4 separate regions of the Homo sapiens genome follow, and regions 1, 3 and 4 are each linked to region 2. Evidence: promoter capture Hi-C in human tissues and cell types (Jung and others, 2019). All regions are on one chromosome and are shown on one strand. The core of a region is centred on a gene start or on the middle of the fragment in contact, and the rest is flanking DNA. Distances in the headings are between cores, read along the strand shown. Region 1 has its middle 59 kb from the start of MIR550A3HG. Region 2 holds the start of WIPF3 (WAS/WASL interacting protein family member 3). Region 3 overlaps WIPF3 (WAS/WASL interacting protein family member 3). Region 4 has its middle 45 kb from the start of WIPF3.

The links. Contacts are between HindIII fragments. The study calls those that stand out against the background at their distance.
Region 1: a fragment that was not itself captured here is called in contact with the fragment with the promoter of WIPF3 in region 2 in 7 of the 25 tissues and cell types used here (H1 embryonic stem cells, bladder, heart right ventricle and 4 more).
Region 3: a contact is called between a fragment that was not itself captured here and the fragment with the promoter of WIPF3 in region 2, in 9 of the 25 tissues and cell types used here (aorta, bladder, heart left ventricle and 6 more).
Region 4: a fragment that was not itself captured here is called in contact with the fragment with the promoter of WIPF3 in region 2 in 5 of the 25 tissues and cell types used here (aorta, bladder, heart left ventricle and 2 more).

What each region holds. Positions count from the first base shown.
Region 1 is chr7:29,742,821-29,746,044 of GRCh38, forward strand. No RefSeq gene overlaps it. Among named protein-coding and RNA genes, the nearest start is that of MIR550A3HG, 59 kb to the left of the region's middle. The HindIII fragment of the contact is 4,556 bases long and covers 1-3,224 here.
Region 2 is chr7:29,805,204-29,808,338 of GRCh38, forward strand. WIPF3 (WAS/WASL interacting protein family member 3) reads left to right here and starts at 1,305. Exons shown (of 9, transcript NM_001080529.3): 1 at 1,305-1,475. RefSeq lists an enhancer at 1,041-1,950. The HindIII fragment of the contact is 12,406 bases long and covers 1-3,135 here.
Region 3 is chr7:29,850,478-29,853,666 of GRCh38, forward strand. All of the region lies in intron 2 of WIPF3 (WAS/WASL interacting protein family member 3), which reads left to right. Among named protein-coding and RNA genes, the nearest start is that of WIPF3, 46 kb to the left of the region's middle. The HindIII fragment of the contact is 3,067 bases long and covers 334-3,189 here.
Region 4 is chr7:29,760,288-29,763,352 of GRCh38, forward strand. No RefSeq gene overlaps it. Among named protein-coding and RNA genes, the nearest start is that of WIPF3, 45 kb to the right of the region's middle. The HindIII fragment of the contact is 7,841 bases long and covers 1-3,065 here.

The DNA.
Region 1 (3,224 bases), core at 356-2,855, 62 kb before region 2:
AGTGTGCAGCAGAAGAGACATCCCCAGAGCTGGGAAGGTCTGGATCGAGTGTATTCGTTTCTTAGGGCAACTGTAAGAAAGTACCACAAACTGGGTGGTTTAAAACAACAGAAACTTGTCTCACAGTTCTACAGACTCAAAGTTCAAAATCAAGGTGTCAGCAGAGCCATGCTCTCTAGGGAATTTAAAGTCTCTAGGGAATAATCTTTCCTTGCTTCTAACTCCTTTGGTTGCCAACCTTGGCATTCCTTGGCTTATGCAAGCCCTGCCTCTGTCTTCACATGGCCTTATTTCACCTGTGTCTCCTCTGTGTTCTCAAATTTCTCTGCTTGTAAGGACACCAGTCATAGGATTTAGGGCCCATCGTATTCCAGTATGACCTCATTCGAGTGCAGTGGCACCATCTCAGCTCACCACAACCTCCGCCTCTCAGGTTCAAGCGATTCTCCTGCCTCAGCCTCCCAAGTAGCCGGGATTACAGGCTCACACCATCACACTGGGGTAATTTTTGAATTTTTAGTAGAGATGGGGTTTCACCATGGTGGTCTGGCTGGTCTCAAACTCCTGACCTCAAATGATCTGCCCGCCTCGGCCTCCCAAAGTGATGGGATTACAGGTGTGAGCCACCACACCCAGTCTGACCTCATCTTGATTACATCTGCAAAGACCTCTTCTCTAAATAAAGGCACATTCACAGGTACTGGGGTTAGAAGCTCAACATGTCTTTTGGGGCTGCCCACAGTGGCTCATGCCCGTAATCCCAGCATTTTGAGAGGCCAAGGCGGGCGGATCACCTGAGGTCAGGAGTTCGAGACCAGCCTGGCCAACATGGTGAACCCCATCTCTACTAAAAATACAAAAAATTATCTAGGCATGGTGGCAGGCGCCTATAATTCCAGCTACTGAGGAGGCTGAGGCAGAAGAATTGCTTGAACCTGGGAGGCAGAGGCTGCAGTGAGCTGAGATCATGTTACTGCACTCCAGCCTGGGCAACAGAGCGAGACTCTGTTAAAAAAAAAAGTCTTTTGGGAGAAGAGAATTGATGCATAACACAAGCAAAGTGACCAAACCCAGGAAAAGCCAGCTGTAAAACCAGCCAGGGTGGGAGCCCAAGGCCATCCAGTAGATGAGAGCTGTCTAATGGTCTAATGCCCACGTCTCCTCCGCCCTCTGGCCTTGGCCTTGGGAAGCAACGCTCAGCAAGGGAGAGGCGGTGGGGATGGGCAAGGAGCAAGACAGATGGTCACACCTGTCTCCCCAAAAGCAGACAGCCAAGGACTGCACTCTGTAGCAGGAAAAAGATGTTCTGTCTTTAAGCACTACATTGTTAATTAATATCTTGGACTAAGCATTCCAGAAAAACTTCTTATTTTGGAAACGTTTAAGCATACAAAACTAGAGGAAACAGAATACCGAGTTCCCTATGTACCCATTGCCCAGCTTCAACAATTATCAACTCAAGGCCAATCATTTTTTTTTAATCTACACCCTCACCCACTCCTCCCTCTCATAGGCTTCTTTTCATGTAAATCCCAGATATATAATCTGGAGATATTTCATTCAGTTATTTCAACATGTCTCTGAAAGAGAAAAACTGTTTTAAAAATAAAACAACAACAGACACCGAGGCCTATGCGAGGTCTCAGGTAGGGAGGAGGGAGAGGAGCAGAAAAAAATAACCACTGGGTACTAGGCTTAGTACCTGGGTGATAAAACAGTCTGTACAACAAACCCCCATAACACGAGTTTACCTGTATAACAAACCTGCACATGTACCCATGAGCCTAAAATAAAAGTTTAAAAAACAAAAATTTAAAAAACCCCACATTATTGTAGCCTCAAAATTAAAAACAATCCCTTAACATCAAATATCTACTGAATGTTCAAATATTCCTGTTTGATGTGTAAAACTTCTCATATGTTTTCTTTGTTCACCTGAAGATCCAAAAAGATCTCTTCACACATTGCAATTAGTAATTTCTTGTAAGTCACTTTTAACCTGTAGGTTCCTCTCTCCTCCTCATCTTTTTTTCTTACAACTTTTTATAAAGAAACTGAGTGTTTCTCCTATAGCGTGTCCCAGTGTGGCTATTGCTTATTGCACTCCATGCTGTTCTTCTATGCTTTCCCATGTATTTTCTATAAATTGGATGTTAAATCCGGAGCAGTGATTCTCAAAGGTAGCCCACTATAATTATCTGAGGAGCTCTTGAAAACCCTGAAGCCGGCCGGGCACGGTGGCTCACACCTGTAATCCCAGCACTTCAGGAGGCCGAGGCGGGCGGATCACCTGATGTCAGGAGTACGAGACCAGCCTGGCCAACATGGTGGAACCCCAACTCTACTAAAAACACAAAAATTAGCCAGGTGTGTTGCTGGGTGCCTGTAGTCCCAGCTACTCAGGAGGCTGAGGCAGGAGAATCACTTGAACCCGGGAGGCAGAGGTTGCAGTGAGCTGGGATCACGCCTCTGTACTCCAGCCTGGGCAACAGAGTGAGACTGGGTCTCAAAAAAATAAAATTAAATAAATAAATAAATAAATAAATAAATAATTAAATAAATATCCCTGAAGCCCAGGCAAATCCAAGAGCAATTATACCAGAGACTCTGGGGGGAACTGAGACACAGGAATTTTTTAAACTACCTCAGATGATCCCAGTATGCAACCAACATTGAAAACCACTGATCTACAGTTTTGATCATATTTAGGCTCAGTTTTTTCCCCTCTGGCATAGGACGGTTTCTTGTATACCTTACATTGGATATTCAAAATTTCCAAATGGACGGAAGAAAATGTGGAAGTGTCCATCACCTATGACTGACCAGAGAGCCTCTAGAATGGCCCTATTCTTCATCTAGTGGCAAGAGATGATTACCCCCCACTAGACAAGTTCTGAAGAGACGAAGGGAAGAAAAATAAAGCATGTTTAATCATGTCACAAATTGCCCTTGATCAATGAGCCAGTAACACATAAGTGGATAGAAAAATATCTAGAAGGGTCGGCACAAAATTAATATCATGACTACCTCTGGGAAGTGACTGCGTTTGGTGTGGCAGCAGTCGTGTTTGTGTGTGTGTCCATAAGGGGTTTTAGCCTTACCTCTGGCTTGTAAGCTTTAGATTGAGAATAAAATCATGTATTAAGTCAGTGAAAAGAAAGAACAAATGATGGCTTTTTAACAACAAAATTTCGTATTTTCTATTTAAAAAGTACTCATTACAG
Region 2 (3,135 bases), core at 55-2,554:
CATTTCACACAAGCCTCAGCACAGCGCTGAGCGCCAGGTTTCTCCTCTATTCCAGACCAGCAGCAACTTTAGAGTTAGACACCTTGCCCTGAGGCCCTGCAGAGTGTCTGGCTCATGGCAGATACTCAAACACCGAGGCTGAGTGAACAGTCCACGAGTACCCGCTTAGCTCCTCCACTAGCAGGAATGCCCAGGACATGGGCAATACAGAATCCTCACCCAATGATCTCAGCACCTACAGCAATGCATTCAGCCTCGGACACAAACTTTCTGCATCCTCCAAGGGCCTGAACAAGAAATGTGACAGAAGCAAGGTTTTCCGTTCTTCAAGCTTATTTCAGGTTTGTTTTTGTTTGTTTCTTTGTTTGGTTTGGTTTGGTTTTTTGAGACAGGGTCTCACTCTATCGCCCAGGCTGGAGTGCAGTGGTTCATTGCAACTTTTGCCTCCTGGGTTCAAGAGATCCTTCCACCTCAGCCTCCCGAGTAGCTAGGACTAGAGAGCGCCACCACACCCGGCTAACTTTTGTATTTTTTGGTAGAGACAGGGCTTCACCATGTTGGCCAGGCTAGTAACTCCTGACCTCAAGTGATCCGTCCACCTCGGCCTCCCAAAGTCCTTGGATTCCAGGCTTGAGCCACCGCGCCCGGCCCTATTTCAGTTTTCAGTCTGCTTTCTCCTCCCTTCGACTCTACCTGGGACATCAATCTACCTCCCCAGGCTACCCGGATAATTCTCTCATCACCTGGCTAATTCACACTCAGTCTTCAGTTTTTCTCGTCGACGTCAGCTCCTCAAGAAGCCCTCCCTGACCTACTCCCCACCCCAAGTTTAGATCAGGTGCTCCCTCTGGGAGCCGGCTCAGGAGGCCTCTGCCTCCTCTTGGTTGTGCTGTAATCGCCCATTGGTCGCTTTCCTTTTCTAGACTGTGAACTCCACGAGGGCAAGAGGTAATCTTGTTCTCTCGTCCCCATCGCTTATGACACCGCCTGGAGCTTAGTAAGGGCTCAACATTTTGGAATAAATTCAAGGAGTGGCGTGTCCCCAGAGTAGCTGTGCTGGGCCGTGTGCCGCCCGCGCAACAGCTCCTATTTGGGGAATTCCAGCCTTAGGCCTCAGTCTCTCCGCAGCTGAGACTTGGGACTCTGTACCCGGGAGGCGCGCCCGCCGACTTGGGACCCGCCTCCAGGGTCCCAGAGCGACCCCGCCCGCCGGGGCCGTGTCCCTGCCGCGGGGCGGCGGCGGCTCCCAGGCAGGAGCCTGCGAGCAGGTGGGGGCGGCGGCCCCGCCTCCGCGTCCCGGCAGCACCAGAGCCGGTGGCCGGGGAGCGAGCCGGGCGCACCGAGCGCAGCTCGGCGGTAGCGGCGCCGCTTGGAGCACGGGCGCTGCGGGACGGAGCCCGGAGCCGGAGGCGGCGGCGGCGGAGACGTCGGCCGGAGCTCGAGTCCAGTCCAGCCCCCGGCTCCGCCACCTGCAGGTAGCGGCTTCCCGCGCGGGTGCGGGTCGGTGCCCGAGGGTGGAAGGAACGGGCGGTGTGGCGGCCGCCGCCCTGGTCGGTCCCGGAGCAGAGTGGCCCGGCCCGGGACAGAGATCCTGAGGGCGTGGGAGGGCCGGGGAACCCCCGCCGGGCTGCAGCCCCGGGCCCAGGAGGTTGTCGACGTGCCGCGCGGCGCTCACGCCCCCCACCCGCACCCTGCCACGCCGCCCCGGCCGGGCCGGGCCGGGCCGGGCGGAAACAAACCGCGGGGTGGGGAGCGAGGTCACCACGGGGTTGCTTGGTGACTTCTCCGGACTGGACTCCCCGGTGAGCAGCCCCTGGCACCGAGGCCGCCTCGGCCTGGTCCTTCGCGACGCTCTCTCTTCTCCGCTTCGCCCCCGGAACAAAAGGCTGGGGTCTCGCTGGGGAGGGGGCTGTCGCGGGAAGGGCTGGGGCGGAGTAAAAGAGAGCTAGGAAATTGCAGAGCCGGAGGTGGCTTGGGGAATACAGAAGGAGCCCCCTAGTGAGGAAGCCAACTCCAGAGATGTGAAGTGACTTGTCCAAGGTCACACAGCTCATGGGGACAGAGCGCAGGTCTCTGGACACCCCTCCCGTGCTCATCTCCAAGCCCCTGGGGTCAGTAGTCAGACTGTGCTCCAGCAATGTACATTTGGCCACAAATGGGTTTAGGGTCCTTTGGAGGATTAGGTGGTGGGTAGGTAGGTGGCAGAGCAGATTTCCCCCAGCCCCTGACACGCACTCTCTGAAGGTGGCGGGGAGGGCGGGCACCCGGCCGCCCTGGACCTGGAGGAGCGCCGCCCGGGCCCCGTGGGCAGGCAGGCACCGGCTCTCAGGAACAGCGCCTTTGGAGGGTGGCGTGCCAGCCGCGTGGGTGTGCCCGTGGCGGGCGCCGGGGCGGCGTGGGGACCGTGTGTGCGCCTCCCTCTGGAAAGAAGTTTCTGCAGGGAAAGGCCAGGAGAGCGGTTCCATGCGCCCTGGGACAGTGTGGCCAATCCCTGACACTCAGGGCGCTTTGTAACTGGCTGTATTGGGGAGGAAAGTTACTCTGTAGCAGGAAGTTAGGCTGTCTCTTCGCCTCTGTGCCTGGGGTCCTTGGCTGTAAATGAGGGCCTTGTTTGGCATGACCAGTGTGATTTAGAAGGTTTGTGCCCCTCCGCCTCCTCCTTTCCAGAATCTTTTCTCACTTCACAGGGAGGACTGGGAGTGCACTTCTTGTGCCCAGCATTAATAGTTATCACTGGGACTCCTGCCTCCCTTCAATTTTTTTTAACTTTATCATTACGAAAGAGGTCAGAGGAGAGGTTGTTTTTGGGCCTTGCAAGGAGATAAACTCCAGGTCAATACCTGGACAGGACATGAGGGAGGCTTCTGGGATGCTAGAAATGCTTCTCACCTTGACCTAAGAATTACTGAAGTTATACCCTTGAGACTTGTGCACTTAACGTAAATTCTACCTCAGTGAAAAAGTAAATAAAAATGTGATGCTAAAGTCCACTCATTGTGGTAACACACAGATTGCTGCAGTTTTCCAGCTAATGCATTTCAAAGATACATTTAAAAACCACAAAAACCAAATCAGAAAAGAAGTGGCGAGGAGGGGCAAAAGAAAGTTAAGAAGTAACTGGAAATGAAACATACA
Region 3 (3,189 bases), core at 617-3,116, 46 kb after region 2:
AAACTCCAGGGCCTCTCCCGAGCTGGAGGAGCACAGCAGGTCTGGTTCTTTGTGGTTACACAGGGCAGGGCAGCGCCCCTTCAGTGATTCTCAAGACGTCACAACATGGGTACCCGGGGACTTCTTTAGACCTCACAGTCCACCACAGAGATTCAGGCTCACACAGGGGAACATGCCACCCCTACTCACCCCATTGAGAACCACTACAGAAAGTGAGGATTGAAAGAGGGACAATGGAGACTCACCAATAAACATGATTCCAGGGGGCCAGAGAGCACCATGCCCCACCTGGCACACACTCACCTTCCCCATGTGTTGGAGGGATACCTGAGCTAGAAAGAAAAGGCCACAGGCCTGTGTGTCAGGTGGACCTGGCTCCCGAGTTTAGTCATCTCTGATATCTGGGCCAATTCTTTTGGACCTCACTTTCCTCATCTGTGAAATGGAAATAATAATACCTTTATGGGGTTGTAAAGGAATTCACTGCAATGATGCTTTAAAGCATCAGCACAGATCCTGGAACATACTAAGTGTTCAGTTATATCAGTGGCAGTCCCCTCTCCCCCAGTCCTTGGCATCTCGGGATGGTGCTCAGCCTCACTGAGTTTCGCACTGTCCTCTCTGGAAATACAGCAAACCCTCCTGTGTCGTATTATGCTCTTGCCAGGCCCGACCTTGCCGGCCATGTCACCTTCTGCTTCTGTGCCAGGAGAGACTGCCCTCAGGAGGGTGCTGAGACTGGAGGTGGGGGACGGAGATTGAACCCCCCTTTCCCCAGGGCTCTGCAGAGCAGAATGTGAAGCTCACTTCCTGGTGTCTGCGATGTTCTCCTTGGCTCGGCCACAAGCAAGTTCACACATCAGCTCCTCTTTACCTTATTGGGGTTGTCACTTTTTAGCCCACCTCCTCTTCTTTTTTTGACCGAATCTTTTCAATGGAATCATCAAATCCTGACCCTCATCTGGGAAAAACCCTGGCTGCTCCTCCTCACCAGGGTCATGCAAGACCACTCCCTCCTCACCATTGACTTACATTCAAAGTAACAATATACTTTTGTGTTCCAGGCACACAAAATTTCCGTGACTGACAGTGCCAGGCTTGGCCTGTTTGGCTTAGATAAAAGCAATTGTCAAGCAGTGGACCTGGAAGGCTCGGTGGACTTTATGACGTTCAATGTCGTTCTTTCCTGCTGTTGGCACAGATGGTGAGGGCTATTGGCAAGACCAGCTGCATGGCCGCATGCTGGTGCAGGCTGGGCTGACTAGACGGGTGCCCTGAGAGCTGAGCTTCTTTCACATCTGCCTCATCAGTGCCCTCTGGGTAACCTTGGATTTCTGTGCCCTTCACCCTTCAGGCCCCACAGTGGGGACAGTCCTATAGGGAGAGGTTTGAGCGTGCTATTGATTTTCTTTCTTGTTTCATGTTGCTTTTGTTTCATTTAAAGTGTTGCTAGACAATGCCTGAAGAGAAAGGCTCCTCTAAAGCTTTTTATTTTAATTTTACTTATTTTTATTTTTTTAATTTTTTAATTTTTAATTTTTGAGATGGGAGTCTTGCTTTGTTACCCAGGCTGCAGTACAGTGGTACAATCATGGCTCACTGCAGCCTCCAGCTACTGGACTCAAGCAGTCCTCCTGCCTCAGCCTCCCAAATAGCTGAGACTACAGGCACACAACACCATGCCTAGCTAATTTATTTTTTATTTATTTTGTAGAGACAGGTCTCGCTTTGTTGCCCAGGCTGGTTTCAAACTCCTGGCGTCAAGCAATCCTCCTGCCTTGGCCTCCCAAAGCATAGGCATGAGCCACGATGCCTAGCCTAAAGCTTTAAACATGTTCTTCAAAGGCTGGGTTCTCAAGAGTAAAACAGGGAGAGGCTGGCCAAAAGTAGAAGGTGCCATGACCATACCACATCAGCTTCCTAAGGAGGATAGAAGGAACAAAATGAGATTTCATAGGAAAACTCTTTAAAATACAAAATCATGTACAGCCTTGTTCTTCAGTGAAATGAACTGAAATATGGCAGCTATATTAGGACATATTATTCTTGCTTTAACAAGAGCCAGACACCAAGAGAATCAAGACCAACAAGAATCATCTTACCACTCAGTTCCCTGATTCACTGCTTTGACACCTGGAGCAGTAGCCCTAGGGCTATGCAACCTGCTGGAACTTCTTGTATGTCTTCCCCAAGAAACAGGTGCATATTGCGAAACCACTTGTTCTCTTTGCTGCCAAATGTAGTTGCCCCCTACCCTGAACTCAGGATTTCTAACACAGACCCAGTGGTGATGGCTGAGTTTCAGGTTGGGAGGACAAGTTTAGAAAAAGGAAGGAGTGTGTGTCCAAAGTCACTTATTGACAGGGAGACTTTTCCACAGCAATTATAATCATACCTTCCTGTTATTATTCATAATAGTAATCCTCTAACATTTTGCTGTCAGCAGTGTGACAAATTAAAAAACATCTCCCCATAGAATATCACTGGATCTTTCAACACCTTCATGAGACAGGTAAGGTCTAATTTTGGGCTCCCCTAAAAGTAGATTCTGAGACAAGGCTTTGGGTGCAAGTAGTTTGTTTGGGAGGTGATTCCTGGATGCCCTGATAAGAGAGTGAGGAAGTGAAATAGAAGAGGGAGGAAAACCAGTAATGGGTGTACGGGGAACTGGGGCTGCACCCCTGCTGTATCCTGGAGAGACTGTGTGGAGCCTGCCTCAAGTCGTTCCACCAACTCTTGTGACTCTCAGGCACTTTCCCCATCTGTCTTGCAGGGGTGTGCCTTCTCCTCTAGGAGTTCCCCTGGCAGAGTCCAACAGGCAGCTAGCCCAGAGGGGAGGTGAAGTCATCCTCTGGAATAGGCTGAGCAGGTGTGCATGGGAGACCCACAGCATCTGCTATGGCTGTGCTTCTCACAGGGACAGGTTCATAGGGGAAGAAACAGGCACAGTGAGCTCCAGTGCTTGCTCAGAGTCCACAGGACTCCATCCCCTGCCCTCTGTCCCCTCCACCACAGTGCATCCCCTAAAGCCCCAGGGCAGTCAGTATTAGGAGACTAGCAACAGGGCCAGTAGCAATGGCCTTCTCTGACAGTGTTTCTCACACAGGGGCCCTGCATGGCTGGTGTGGCCCCTTCTTTTAGAGGCTCTTTTAGAGCATGGTGATTAAGATTCCTGAGCCAGACTTCCTG
Region 4 (3,065 bases), core at 413-2,912, 45 kb before region 2:
GCTGACTGTGAATAGCATTGTCTGGTCAGCATGAAGGACAGTAAAAGCCACTTTCTTAGTTGGAGCCATGATTAAGATGTCATAAATTTAATAAAATACTTGAATCTCAATGAGCTGTTCCCATTGTGCTAGGGATCAAGACCCTATTTCTAGTGAGTTCAAATATCCCTGCAACAGAATAATAAAGAGGTACTACATGTCATGTTAAGCAAAAGCAAAGTGCTCTTGAACTACTTCTTAAAGAATCAGGAAGAAGAGGCAATAGCAGACCTAGAGTAACATACCAAGTGTAGATAGTAGCCTCAATCAGTTCAATAACTATTATACAACCACCTCTTTATTTAGTCCTTGTTATCCACAGTCAGGCATCAAGCCCAGTCCCTACCTCCAGCTTTTTTGACCAGCCAAACTGTACTGTTGAATCGGTAGATAATGGGCATTTAATCTTTGCCTACATTTAACCTCTCCTGGTATGTAATTCTACTTCAACAGAAAAATCTTTTCTAGCACAGTAAAACCAGGTAACTCCTAGGAGTGTAACTTTATAGCTTTTGCAGTAGCAAAAAAAAAATGTGGGTGTTCATTTGGCATCTGTGCCCCTTCATTGGGCTGATATTTTACAATGTCCAGCCAGGCTCAGCGACACACACCTGTAATGTCAGCACTTTAGAAGGCTAAGGTGGGCAGATGGCTTGAGTTCAGGAGTTCAAGTCTAGCCTGGGCAACATGAAAAGACCCCATCTATACAAAAAAAAAAAAAAATACAAAAATTAGCCAGATGTTATTTTGTATACCTGTAGTCCCAGCTAATCTGGAGGCTGAGGTGGGCACATCACTTGAGCCCGGGAGGTTGAGGCTGTAGTGAGCCAAGACAGTGTTACTGCACTCCAGTCTGGGCAACAGAATGAGACCCTGTCTCAAAAAAAAAAAAAAAAAAAAAGTCCAATCCATGTAGTCTGACAAAGAAATCCACAGTGTAGTCCAATCAAATAGGCAAACATCCATACAAATTGTGACCCAGGGCTCTCAACTAAAAGTAATATTAGTCCTGAATCCTGACAGAGGGATTCATTTACCATGGAGTAAGCCTAAAAAGCTTTCTGAGGCAGTTGGGAAACAGGGTCTAGCCCTAGTCCTCCTTAAGTTTGAATAAGACAAAATCTGTCCAGAGGGATGCTTTGGAGCTTGAACTCAGCCCCAGAAGACAGCAACAAAGGCTGGTGCAGCATATCTCCAGGATGGTTAATTGTATGTGTTCATTTGACTGGGCTAGGGATGCCCAGATAGCTGGTAGAACATTTATGGGTGTATCTGTGAGGGTGTTTCCACAAGAGACTGGCATTTTAATCTTTAGACTGAGTAAAGAAGATAAGATCTCCCTCACCAACGCAAGTGGGCATCATCCCATCCATTGAGGGCCTGAGTATGACAAAAAGTAACTTCGCTCTCTGCTCGAGCTGGGATATCCATCTTCTCCTGCTCCCAGATGTTGGTGCTCATGGTTCTCAGGCCTTCAGACTTGAACCAGGATTTATACTATTTTCTCACCTGACCCTTATCCCTTCAGGTTTTGACTCAAACTACAAATGACACCACTGGCTTTCTTGGGCCTCCAGTTTGTAGATGGCAGATTATGGGACTTCACAGCTTCCATTATCTCAGGAGCCAATCTTTCATAATAATCTCTCTCTCTCTCTCTCTGAATAATGATATTTTGCATCTTCAAAACTTACATTAAATGATCATAGAGTCTTTAAATTGGGAAAATTTAGTAAATCATCCAGAGACAAATGTTACTTTTCTCTAGATCTTTCTTCATAACATCAGTATCTGTTAATACTATATATATACTATATATATTATATATACTATATATATATTATAAGGTAGATATATATATTATATATATATACCTTTCTTGCTAAACTAACTTTCATTAATTGTTGATTTGGTTAGACTATCTTCAAATAATTTTTTTTCCAAAAAATCTACAGTAGAGATTTCTCTTATGAGTAGTTGAGCATCTATTCATTCAAAATATTTATTGAAGTCACCATATGGTGACCTTATCTTTACTCCTTCGACCTGAGAATACTTAAAGGGTGCAATACTACTTTTATATATATATATATATATATGTATGTATATAATATGTATAGCATATATATTATATACTATATATAGTATACTATAGTGTATATATACTGTATATATAGTATATAGTGTATATGTGTATATATATATATATATAGAGAGAGAGAGAGAGATTCTGTTTCTCTGAAAAACCTTAACTAATACAATCCCTTTATGTCTCTGTTTTTGCTGTCATGGATTAAAAATAATATTAATAAAATAAAATAAAAAAATTGGGGCTGGGCACAGTGGCTCACGCCTATAATCCCAGCACTTTGGGAGGCCAATGTGGGCAGATTGCTTGAGCCCAGGAGTCTGAGATCAGTCTGGAAGCCATGGCGAAATCCCATATCTACAAAAAATACCAAAAAATTAGCCAGGCTTGGCACATGCCTGTAGTTCCAGCTACTCAAAAGGCTGAGGTGGGAGGAACACCCAAGCCTGGGAGTTTGAGGCTGTAGTGAGCCATGATTGTGCCACTGCACTCCAGCCTGGGTGACAGAGTGAGACCCTGTCTCAAAAACAAAAAATAATTGGGTTATTTTGAGGCCTCTTGCTTCCACATTCCATGTTAAGGTGGAGCATATATTGCCTAAAAGTAGTATTGCACCCTTTAAGTATTCTCAGGTCGAAGGAGTAAAGATAAAGTCACCATATGGTGACTTCAATAGATATTTTGAATGAATAGATGCTCAACTACTCATGAGAAACCTCTACTGTAGATTTTTTGGAAAAAAATTATTTGAAGATACTCTAACCAAATCAATGATTAATGAAAGTATAGCAAGAAAGGGAAAATTGTAGTTCAAAAGGATAAGGTCTCTTCTTATTCAGTTTGCACCCCAACTTCAGGAATCTCTTTGAATTATGTATTTCCAGATAGATCCTGAGGTCTTGGGACAAAGTTTGACCTTGTGTCATTTTAATTAACT